3 separate regions of the Homo sapiens genome follow, and regions 2 and 3 are each linked to region 1. Evidence: promoter capture Hi-C in 16 types of primary human blood cells and fetal thymus (Javierre and others, 2016). All regions are on one chromosome and are shown on one strand. Each heading gives the region's core, a stretch centred on a gene start or on the middle of the fragment in contact. The rest is flanking DNA. Distances are from core to core; before and after follow the strand shown.

Region 1 (2,700 bases), core at 201-2,700:
AGTAGCTGGGATTACAGGCGCCCACTACTATGCCCAGCTAATTGTTTTGTATTTTTAGTAGAGACGAGGTTTCACCACGTTGGCCAGGCTGGTCTTGAACTCCTGACCTCGGGCGATCCACCCACCTCGGCCTCCCAAAATGCTGGGATTACAGGCGTGTGCCACCGTGCACGGCCAAATCTTTTTTTCTTTTTGAGACGGACTCTTGCTCTGTCGCCGAGGCTGGAGTGCAGTGGCGGATCTCGGCTCACTGCAAGTTCCGCCTCCCGGGTTCACGCCATTCTCCTACCTCAGCCTCCCGAGTAGCTGGGACTACCGGCGCCCGCCACCACGCCCGGCTAATTTTTTGTATTTTTAGTAGAGACGGGGTTTCACCGTGTTAGCCAGAATGGTCTCGATCTCCTGACCTTGTGATCCGCCCGCCTCAGCCTCCCAAAGTGCTAGGATTACAGGCGTGAGCCACCGCGCCGGGCAGAAATAGACATTTTCAAGTGACTGGAGATCATTCATTATATAATTAAAGTAAAAGTAGTCTGCAGGGTGTAATATTTTAAAGCACATTACAATTATGACATTTATGAAATAATTCCAAAATCTGAACTACTTTTTCAACAATTTAAAAAATCTCTAATAAAAAGGGGAATGGTGAATTTTGCTTTATTTATATACACATATTTTTTTAAACCCCAGCACTGTTGAGTACTAGTGTTTGTGTTGGCAACATGGTTTAGCGGGAAAAACACAGAGGTTTACTGCAACTGTGGACCACGTGAGTGAGAAAAAAGTCACTATATGTGTAAAGTATTGTGTAAAGAACGTTAAATAGCTTGATTCTAAGAGAAACTGTTTAGGTTTACATGGTATTTTACTGACAAGCACACATATTGTATGTGACGAAAGCATATCACGTATAAATTAGTATATGTATTATGAGCTCAATCTGTTAATTTAGGTTCTTATTCTTAAGTGCTGCTGTCTCTGTTTATAACGTAATAGTGCTACTTTCATTATCTCAAGAGAGCCGTGGGGTTGTACATGGGTCTAAAACGGACACGCGACAAGGGTTCCTAGGAATAAACCATAAACAGGCCCGGGAGCTACGCTAACGCCAAACGCCGAGCAGTGAGACGCGCAGCACCCGCCCTGCGCCTCGGTGGCAGCCGTCCACGCCGTCAGTGCCTGGCGGTTCCCGTGGGACATACCGTCCACTCGCCACGCCCCTCCGCCCGCGGCGCACCCCACGCACCGTGCCCTGGCCGCCCGCCTCACGCACCGCTTTCCTCTCCGTCCAGCGCTCGCTGCAGCCGGGCCGTCTCGCAGTCCAGCGTGCTGGCCAGAGACCGCAGCTTCCCGCAGAAGCTCCGGATAGGGTCCATGCTGAGCACAGCGGGGAAGGACTCCAGGCGTACGCAGACCCCACCGCTCAGCTCACAGCCTCCCGCCACTAGTTTGAATCTCGGCGCCGGACGCGTCCTCGGCTCTGCGCAGGCGCAGTCCTCTCTCGCGAGAGCCGAAGTCTCTCGCCGAGGCCCCAGGAGACCCCGCGAGACGGGTGCGCTTACGCCACGGCGTCTGCTGGCGGCCGCGGAGACGCAGAGTCTTGAGCAGCGCGGCAGGTGAGTAGCTGTGCGAATTCGGTTCTCTAGGGAGCTCCTTCTTCGCCTGCTGGCCTTACCTGGGCTCCCCGCTTCTCTGGAGGGGAGGCGGTGCGGGAACTCCCGTAGGCGTGAGCTGGAGCGCGCGCCCGCTGCTCTCTCCAGGTCCGGCCGCGCCAGTTCGCCTCCGCAAAGCCCGTCCCTCTCTTCCGCAGGCACCATGTTCCTGACTGCGCTCCTCTGGCGCGGCCGCATTCCCGGCCGTCAGTGGATCGGGAAGCACCGGCGGCCGCGGTTCGTGTCGTTGCGCGCCAAGCAGAACATGATCCGCCGCCTGGAGATCGAGGCGGAGAACCATTACTGGCTGAGCATGCCCTACATGACCCGGGAGCAGGAGCGCGGCCACGCCGCGGTGCGCAGGAGGGAGGCCTTCGAGGCCATAAAGGCGGCCGCCACTTCCAAGTTCCCCCCGCATAGATTCATTGCGGACCAGCTCGACCATCTCAATGTCACCAAGAAATGGTCCTAATCCTGAGTCGTCACCCTTGGATTTTATGGATCACGGAGCTGACCATCTTTACCTGGTCCTGGAACTGAAAAACTGTAGCTTGTGTGAAAATGAGCCTTTGGACCAGTCTTTATTAAAACAAACAAACATGAGTAGTCTGCATATCGAATATCTAGAGCTCTAAACCCCCAATACTTAAAAGTCTAATTGCTGTCCTGTGGTTTCATTAGTCTGATAGGAAGATAGGGATTTCCTCAGTCACAGATGATATTTTGAAGGAAAGCTGCAATAAAGCCACAATGATTTGAGGTCTTTGCTTAAGTATGAGATACTTGATGGGGGCTTTATCATGCAACATTAGTTTGCTTACCTTAAGAATTGCCCAAAAATGAAAGAAAATATGAGCTTTTCAGTTAAACATACTCCTAAAAACATTTTCCGGGATTTTACTACTAAAATTGGACATTTAAGCGAAGTAAAAGAGGCCGGGTGCGGTGGCTCACGCCTGTAATCCCAACACTTTAGGAGTCCAAGGCGGGCGGATCACTTGAGGTCAGGAGTTCAAGACCAGCTTGGCCAAGGTGATAAAACCCGTCT
Region 2 (2,802 bases), core at 216-2,715, 280 kb after region 1:
AACATTAGTTTCTAGCTGATGTGGTTCGTTATTCAAAGAACACTTAACAGTCCTTCATAAAATGGTAGATTCAGTCTAAGGACTAAGAGTAGAACATTCTGGAATAACAATAACGTTTACAAACACCACTTACCATTTGGTCCTAGGTTTTCATAAAAAATTGATATAGGCAGCAGATGTATACAGAACACCCTAGTTGAGGCCAGTTTAAGTGTAAAATACCCACATACTCAAAGCCTAAGAACAATTTACTTAAGACAAAACAATGTTGGAGAAATTGCCCAATATCACAAATGTAGCAGTCACCCCTAAACAGTGTTTTTGATTAATGACAACCAATTTCCTTCAATCTTAAAGGCAACCAATTCAAGCCAGTAGGTTAAATCCTTGAAGTATACTGCAATGCTACTCCTTTTTTCCAGGGAATCAGATGAGAATTTTGTGCTAAGAACTTATCAGGAAAATGGAAGTAACGAAAATTAACACGCCAAAATATGAGTATAAGAAATATAAGCCTCCTTAATAATCAGCCAAGAAAAAAATAATCAGGTTATGTCTCCTCCCACCCATTCTTTCTGTCTTAACCTTCTGCAAAAGCCGGCTGGATTCAGAGTAGAAATAAACGAATTTTACAATGAGTCGAGTACCACCAAAAATCAAAAGTGGGAGCTTACTCGTCCTCCAGGTCTGACCCGCCTCCAGCCCGAGGCCACCAAAAGACACACCTCCCTTCCCCCAACCCGCCACAGCCGGCTCTACAGGTAACAGGCGTTTCTTCTCGCGCAGTTTGAACAAAAACAATCCAGAAGGAACAGATTTGGTTTTTTAAAAAAAATGAACAAAAGCCAAAAAAGCCACAAACACAACCTAAACCTTCTAAGAAGCTCGACTACTCCCGTTCTGCACGTTCCTTCCCAGAAGGATGCAGACCCCCGGTGTCGGCGGGAACCAGGAAGCTCTTGGGGCCTCCCTGGGCCAGACCTGCACCCGGGAAGCCGCCGCAAGGCTTCAGGAGCCCCAGGTCGCCCCAAGGCCGCGCCGCAGGATTGAACAAAGCGGCGGGTGCAGCAACCTCGGCGCTTCCGAGCGCGTTCGGGGCCGGACGCCCGGCGTCCGGCGCTGGCTCCAGAAAGGCGGCGGGTGTGGGGCGCAGAGGCCTATCTCGCGCCCTAGCCGCGGCCCGCGCCCCGCCGCAGTCCCCGGGGACGGTACTCACACACGCAGAGCTCCACCACGTACGCGTAGTAGGACCAGACGACCACGAAGGTGATGAAGAGCACCGGCACCCAGCCCACGACGCGCTGGCAGCAGCGCCACAGCGTCCAGGGCGCCATGTTCCGCTGGCGGCTGCCGAGCCCCGCGTCCCACCGTTCTGGGGAGCGCGGGAGCCCCGGCGACGGTGACTCGGACGCTCCAGGCGGCTGCTGGTCCAGCTCCCCCGCCTCCGAGGCAGGACTTGTGGGAGCAAAAGTCCGAGGCGCCGCCGGGACTCCTCCCGTCCCGGCGCCCAGCCAGGCCCCGCCCCCACCCCACATCCCGTCGCCCCCCTCCCCCCGCGTCCGTCCCCGCCAGCCCGCCCGCCGCGGGCCGCGGGCCGCCCCCGGTCTCCGCGTCGTTGGGGCGGGGTTTCCGCGGCCGGGGAGGCGGTGAGGGGGCGGGGCCGCAGCTCGGGACCGCCCATGGGGCGTGGCGGGGCTGGATGCGGACAGGCTGGGCGGACGCGGGAGGCCGGGGAAGGAGAGGCGAAAAACACGCCCTTGATGGATGAGAGGGACAGGGGATAGCTTTTGTGGATCGAGACTCAATAGGGGAGGGAGACTATGGAAATGATTCCTTAGCTGATTTGTGGATCTTGGCCCTCTCTGTGTACAGAACTCGCTCCACTGGGGTTCCTGGGACATTGAGTAGTTGGGGCACTGTTTCAAACATGACAAGGCCATTCCCCACTCAGTGTGCGAAGAATGCACATTGTTAGAAGGCTCCTCCTGTGATTTTTATGTTCGTCCATCTTGGCGGAACCCCTCCCTTTCTTGAAGATGGAACGGTAGATACCTGTAATTTCGGGTAGAAGCCATGTAGGGTCCATCAGTTTGATTCGTAACCCAAATTTAAGATTGAGTAGCGAGAAGGAAAGGGCATGTAAATGACCCTCTCCTTGCCCCGCAAACGACTAAGGAAATTTAAAGAATTTATTTACAACTAGAGGTTGCTAAGCAATGACGATAATCATATAGAACCCAGAAGCATCACTGTGAAGACTTCACAATGCAAGGTCAGACGCATTAGAAGGGATTCCAGACCGCAATCTTCATACCAGTTCCTGCTACTAGCATTCAGTTTTGGTTAGAATGAATTTTTGTGTTTGTTTTTTGAAACAGGGTCTTCTCGCTCTGTCGCCCAAGCTGGAGTGCAGTGGCACGACCTGGGCTCATTTAAGCCTCGACCTCCCTGCTAAAGCACTCCTCCTGCTTCAGCCTGCAGAGTAGCAGGGACTACAGGCCCGCCACCATGCCCAGCTGATGTTTGTATTTTCTGTAAAAACTAGGTTTCGCCCTGTTGCCATGCTGGCCCTGAACTCCAAGGCTCAAGGAATCCCAACCCCTCTCCGCCTCCACCTCCCAAAGAAGTGCTGAGATTACAGGTGTGAGCCACCACGACCGGCCTACACTGAGCTTTAAATTAGCTACTGCTCACTAAAGTCTCCATGAAGAAGACGTCACCCTTTGCTGTGTCAGAGAAATGTAGTAAAAGCGAGTAAGTATTTAATCACTGCACACTGCTGCTTGAGTAATAAAGCATGTA
Region 3 (2,910 bases), core at 334-2,833, 320 kb after region 1:
ATCCTAGCACTTTGGGAGGCCAAGGCAGGCAGATCACCTGAGGTCAGCAGTTCAAGACCAGTCTGGTCAACATGGTGAAAAAGAAAAAAAAAAAAAAATTAGCTGGGTGTGGTGGTGCACACCTGTAGTCCCAGCTATTTGGAAGGCTGAGGCAGGAGAATTGTTTAAACCCGTGAGGCGGAGGCTACAGTGAGCCAAGATCGCGCCACTGCACTCCAGCCTGGGTGATGGAGTGAGACTCTGTGTAAAAACAAACAAATAAATAAAAAAGTTAAAAGAAAACTCAGTTTTTTCCATTAAAACAATAAAAGCTGGGTACGGTGGTTCCTGACTGCAATCACAGCACTTTGGAAGGCTGAGGTGGCCGGACTGCCTGAGCTCAGGAGTTGGAGACCAGACTGGGCAACATGGTGAAACCCCCATCTCTACAAAAAATACAAAAATTAGCCAGGCACGGTGGCATGTGCCTGTGGTCCCAGCGACTGAGGAGGCTTAGGCAGAAGGATCCCTTGAGCACAGGAGTTTGAGGTTATAGTGAGCTAACTGCACCACTGCACTTCAGCCTGGGCAACAGAGCAAGACCCTGTCTCAAAAACAAACAAACAAAACAAAAGTAAACAAAGTATGAAAATTCTCTTAGTTTTTATCTTGTTTTTGAGATAGTGTTTCACTCTGTGACCCAGGCTGGAGTCCAGATCACAGCTCACTGCAGCCTTGAAATTCTGGGTTCAAGCTATCCTCCTGCCTCAGTCTCCCAAGTAGCTGGGACTACAGACACAGAGCACCACACCCAACTAATGTTTTTATTTCTGTTTTTAGTAGAGACGAGATCTCGCTATGTTTCTCAGGCTGGTTTCAAACTCCTGGGCTCAAGTGATCCTCCCACCTTAGCCTCAGAAAGTGCAGGGATTACAAGTGTCAGCCATTGTGTCCAGCTAAAAATTCTTAATTTGAAAGTAAATTCTTCCCTGCCTGAAAAAAAAAGTTTCTCTTTGTAGGATGCTGAGGATCATGCCCTCTGTAATGTGTGGTCTTACTCAAGGTTCACTGGTTTCCAGCTTTTGTGACTTCATGAAATTTTTATTTTTAAATATTTCAATAAAGTTTTTGAAAAAGTAATATGTGCACATGGTTAAAAATTCAAACAACATGAAGGATAAATGATGAAGAGTTCTTCCACTCTGATTCCCAGTTCCATTCCCCAGACATGAGTTACCAATTCCTTGTGTCTCCATCCAGAAATATCCTATTCTTTTTTTTTTTTTTTTTTTTTTTTTTTTTGAGACAGTCTCGCTCTGTCACCCAGGCTGAAGCGCAATGGCGCAATCTTGGCTCACTGCAACCTCTGCTTCCCAGGTTCAAGCAATTCTCCTGTCTCAGCCGCCTGAGTAGCTAGGACTGCAGGCACCCACCACCACGTCCGGCTAATTTTTGTATTTTCAGTAGAGATGGGGTTTCACCATATTGGTCAGGCTGGTCTCAAACTCCTGACCTCAGGTGATTCACCCACCTCAGCCTCCCAAAGTGCTGGGATTACAGGCGTGAGCCACCGCGCCTGGCTAATATTCTATTCTTATTAAAGTGTATACATGTACACACACGTCTCCTTGTTTTACACAATGGGAACAATCTCTTCACATATTTCTGTACCTTGCTTTATTCTCTTAACAGTATATTTACAAGATGATAGAGAGGGAAAAAAGGAAAAAAAAAAACCAGTGTATTTATCAGCACAAATAAGAGTGGCTGCTTCTATCATGACCTCGAAGTAGGCACTGGATGCAACTTTTTTGATGTCTGCTTTTCTGATAGATGAAAAATGGTATTTTATTAATGTTTGAATTTGCATGTCTTACGGAGTCTTGCTGTGTTGCCCAGTCTGGAGTGCAGTGGCGTGATCTTGGCTCACCAGAACCTCCGCCTCCCTCATTCAAGCGATTCTTCTGCCTCAGCCTCCTGAAAAGCTGTGATTACAGGCATGCGCCACCACGCCCCGCTAATTTTTGTATTTTTAGAAGAGACGGGGTTTCACCATGTTGACCAGGCTGGTCTCAAACTCCCGGCCTCAGGTGATCCACCTGCCTCGGCCTCCCAAAGTGCTGGAATTACAGGTGGGAGCCATAGGCCCGGCCTGAATTTGCATGTCTTCAATTGTGAATGAAGTTAAACATTTTTCACATGCTTATTAGTCATTTGTGGATTTCTCTTCTTGTGTCCTGTTTATGTCCTTTGCCCAGATTTCTAATGGGTTGTTAGGTAACTTACTGTGCGAGACCGTTCTCCATGGGTCTCACATTTCTTTTTTTTTTTGAGATGGAGTCTCGCTCTGTCACCCAGGCTGGAGTGCAGTAGCACAATCTCGGCTCCCTGCAAACTTCACCTCCTGGGTTCACACCAATTCTCCTGCCTCTGCCTCCCGAGTAGCTGGGACTACAGGCACCCGCCACCACGCCTGTCTAATTTTTTGTATTTTTAGTAGAGATGGGGTTTCACCATGTTAGCCAAGATGTTCTCAATCTTCTGACCTCATGATCTGCCCGCCTCGGCCTCCCAAAGTGCTGGGATTACAAGTTTGAGCCACCGTGCCCAGCTGGGTCTCACGTTTCTGTACATCTATCAGAGGCACCGACTGCATTTTTGTTCCAGATTATATCTTCGAGGATTTCACACCTGTAATCCCAGCACTTTGGGAGGCCGAGAGTTTGGGACCAGCCTGGCCAACAACACAGTGAAACCCATCTCTACTAAACATACAAAAATTGCGAGGCATGGTGGTATGCGCCTGTAATCCCAGCTACTCAGGAGGCTGAGGCAGGAGAATTGTTTGTATAGCGGACAGCACTGTTCCTCAGGAGCACAGGACAGCTTTGCTTACTGTCCAGTATCATGAATACACAATGCCTCCCACTG

The links. Contacts are between HindIII fragments. The CHiCAGO score rates a contact against its expected background, and 5 or more counts as called.
Region 2: a contact is called between the fragment with the promoter of ZDHHC20 here and the fragment with the promoter of SKA3 in region 1, in 15 of 17 cell types (total B cells, total CD4 T cells, fetal thymus and 12 more). The highest score is 18.5, in total B cells.
Region 3: a contact is called between a fragment that was not itself captured here and the fragment with the promoter of SKA3 in region 1, in 4 of 17 cell types (fetal thymus, total B cells, M2 macrophages and 1 more). The highest score is 7.1, in fetal thymus.

Annotation. Positions count from the first base shown.
Region 1 is chr13:21,175,102-21,177,801 of GRCh38, forward strand. It overlaps SKA3 (spindle and kinetochore associated complex subunit 3), which reads right to left and starts at 1,451. Exons shown (of 9, transcript NM_145061.6): 1 at 1,274-1,451. The coding sequence starts at 1,376. It overlaps MRPL57 (mitochondrial ribosomal protein L57), which reads left to right and starts at 1,557. Exons shown (of 2, transcript NM_024026.5): 1 at 1,557-1,616; 2 at 1,811-2,700. The coding sequence starts at 1,816. The coding sequence ends at 2,124. RefSeq lists enhancers at 1-246, 969-1,691, 1,707-2,026. The HindIII fragment of the contact is 19,534 bases long and covers 1-2,700 here.
Region 2 is chr13:21,457,838-21,460,639 of GRCh38, forward strand. It overlaps ZDHHC20 (zDHHC palmitoyltransferase 20), which reads right to left and starts at 1,466. Exons shown (of 13, transcript NM_001330059.2): 1 at 1,217-1,466. The coding sequence starts at 1,334. It overlaps LOC124903131 (a long non-coding RNA gene), which reads left to right and starts at 1,710. Exons shown (of 2, transcript XR_007063713.1): 1 at 1,710-2,342; 2 at 2,546-2,802. RefSeq lists a silencer at 1,379-1,758, an enhancer at 1,622-1,791 and a cis regulatory region at 1,707. The HindIII fragment of the contact is 7,258 bases long and covers 1-2,802 here.
Region 3 is chr13:21,497,118-21,500,027 of GRCh38, forward strand. All of the region lies in intron 9 of MICU2 (mitochondrial calcium uptake 2), which reads right to left. Among named protein-coding and RNA genes, the nearest start is that of ZDHHC20, 39 kb to the left of the region's middle. The HindIII fragment of the contact is 9,764 bases long and covers 1-2,910 here.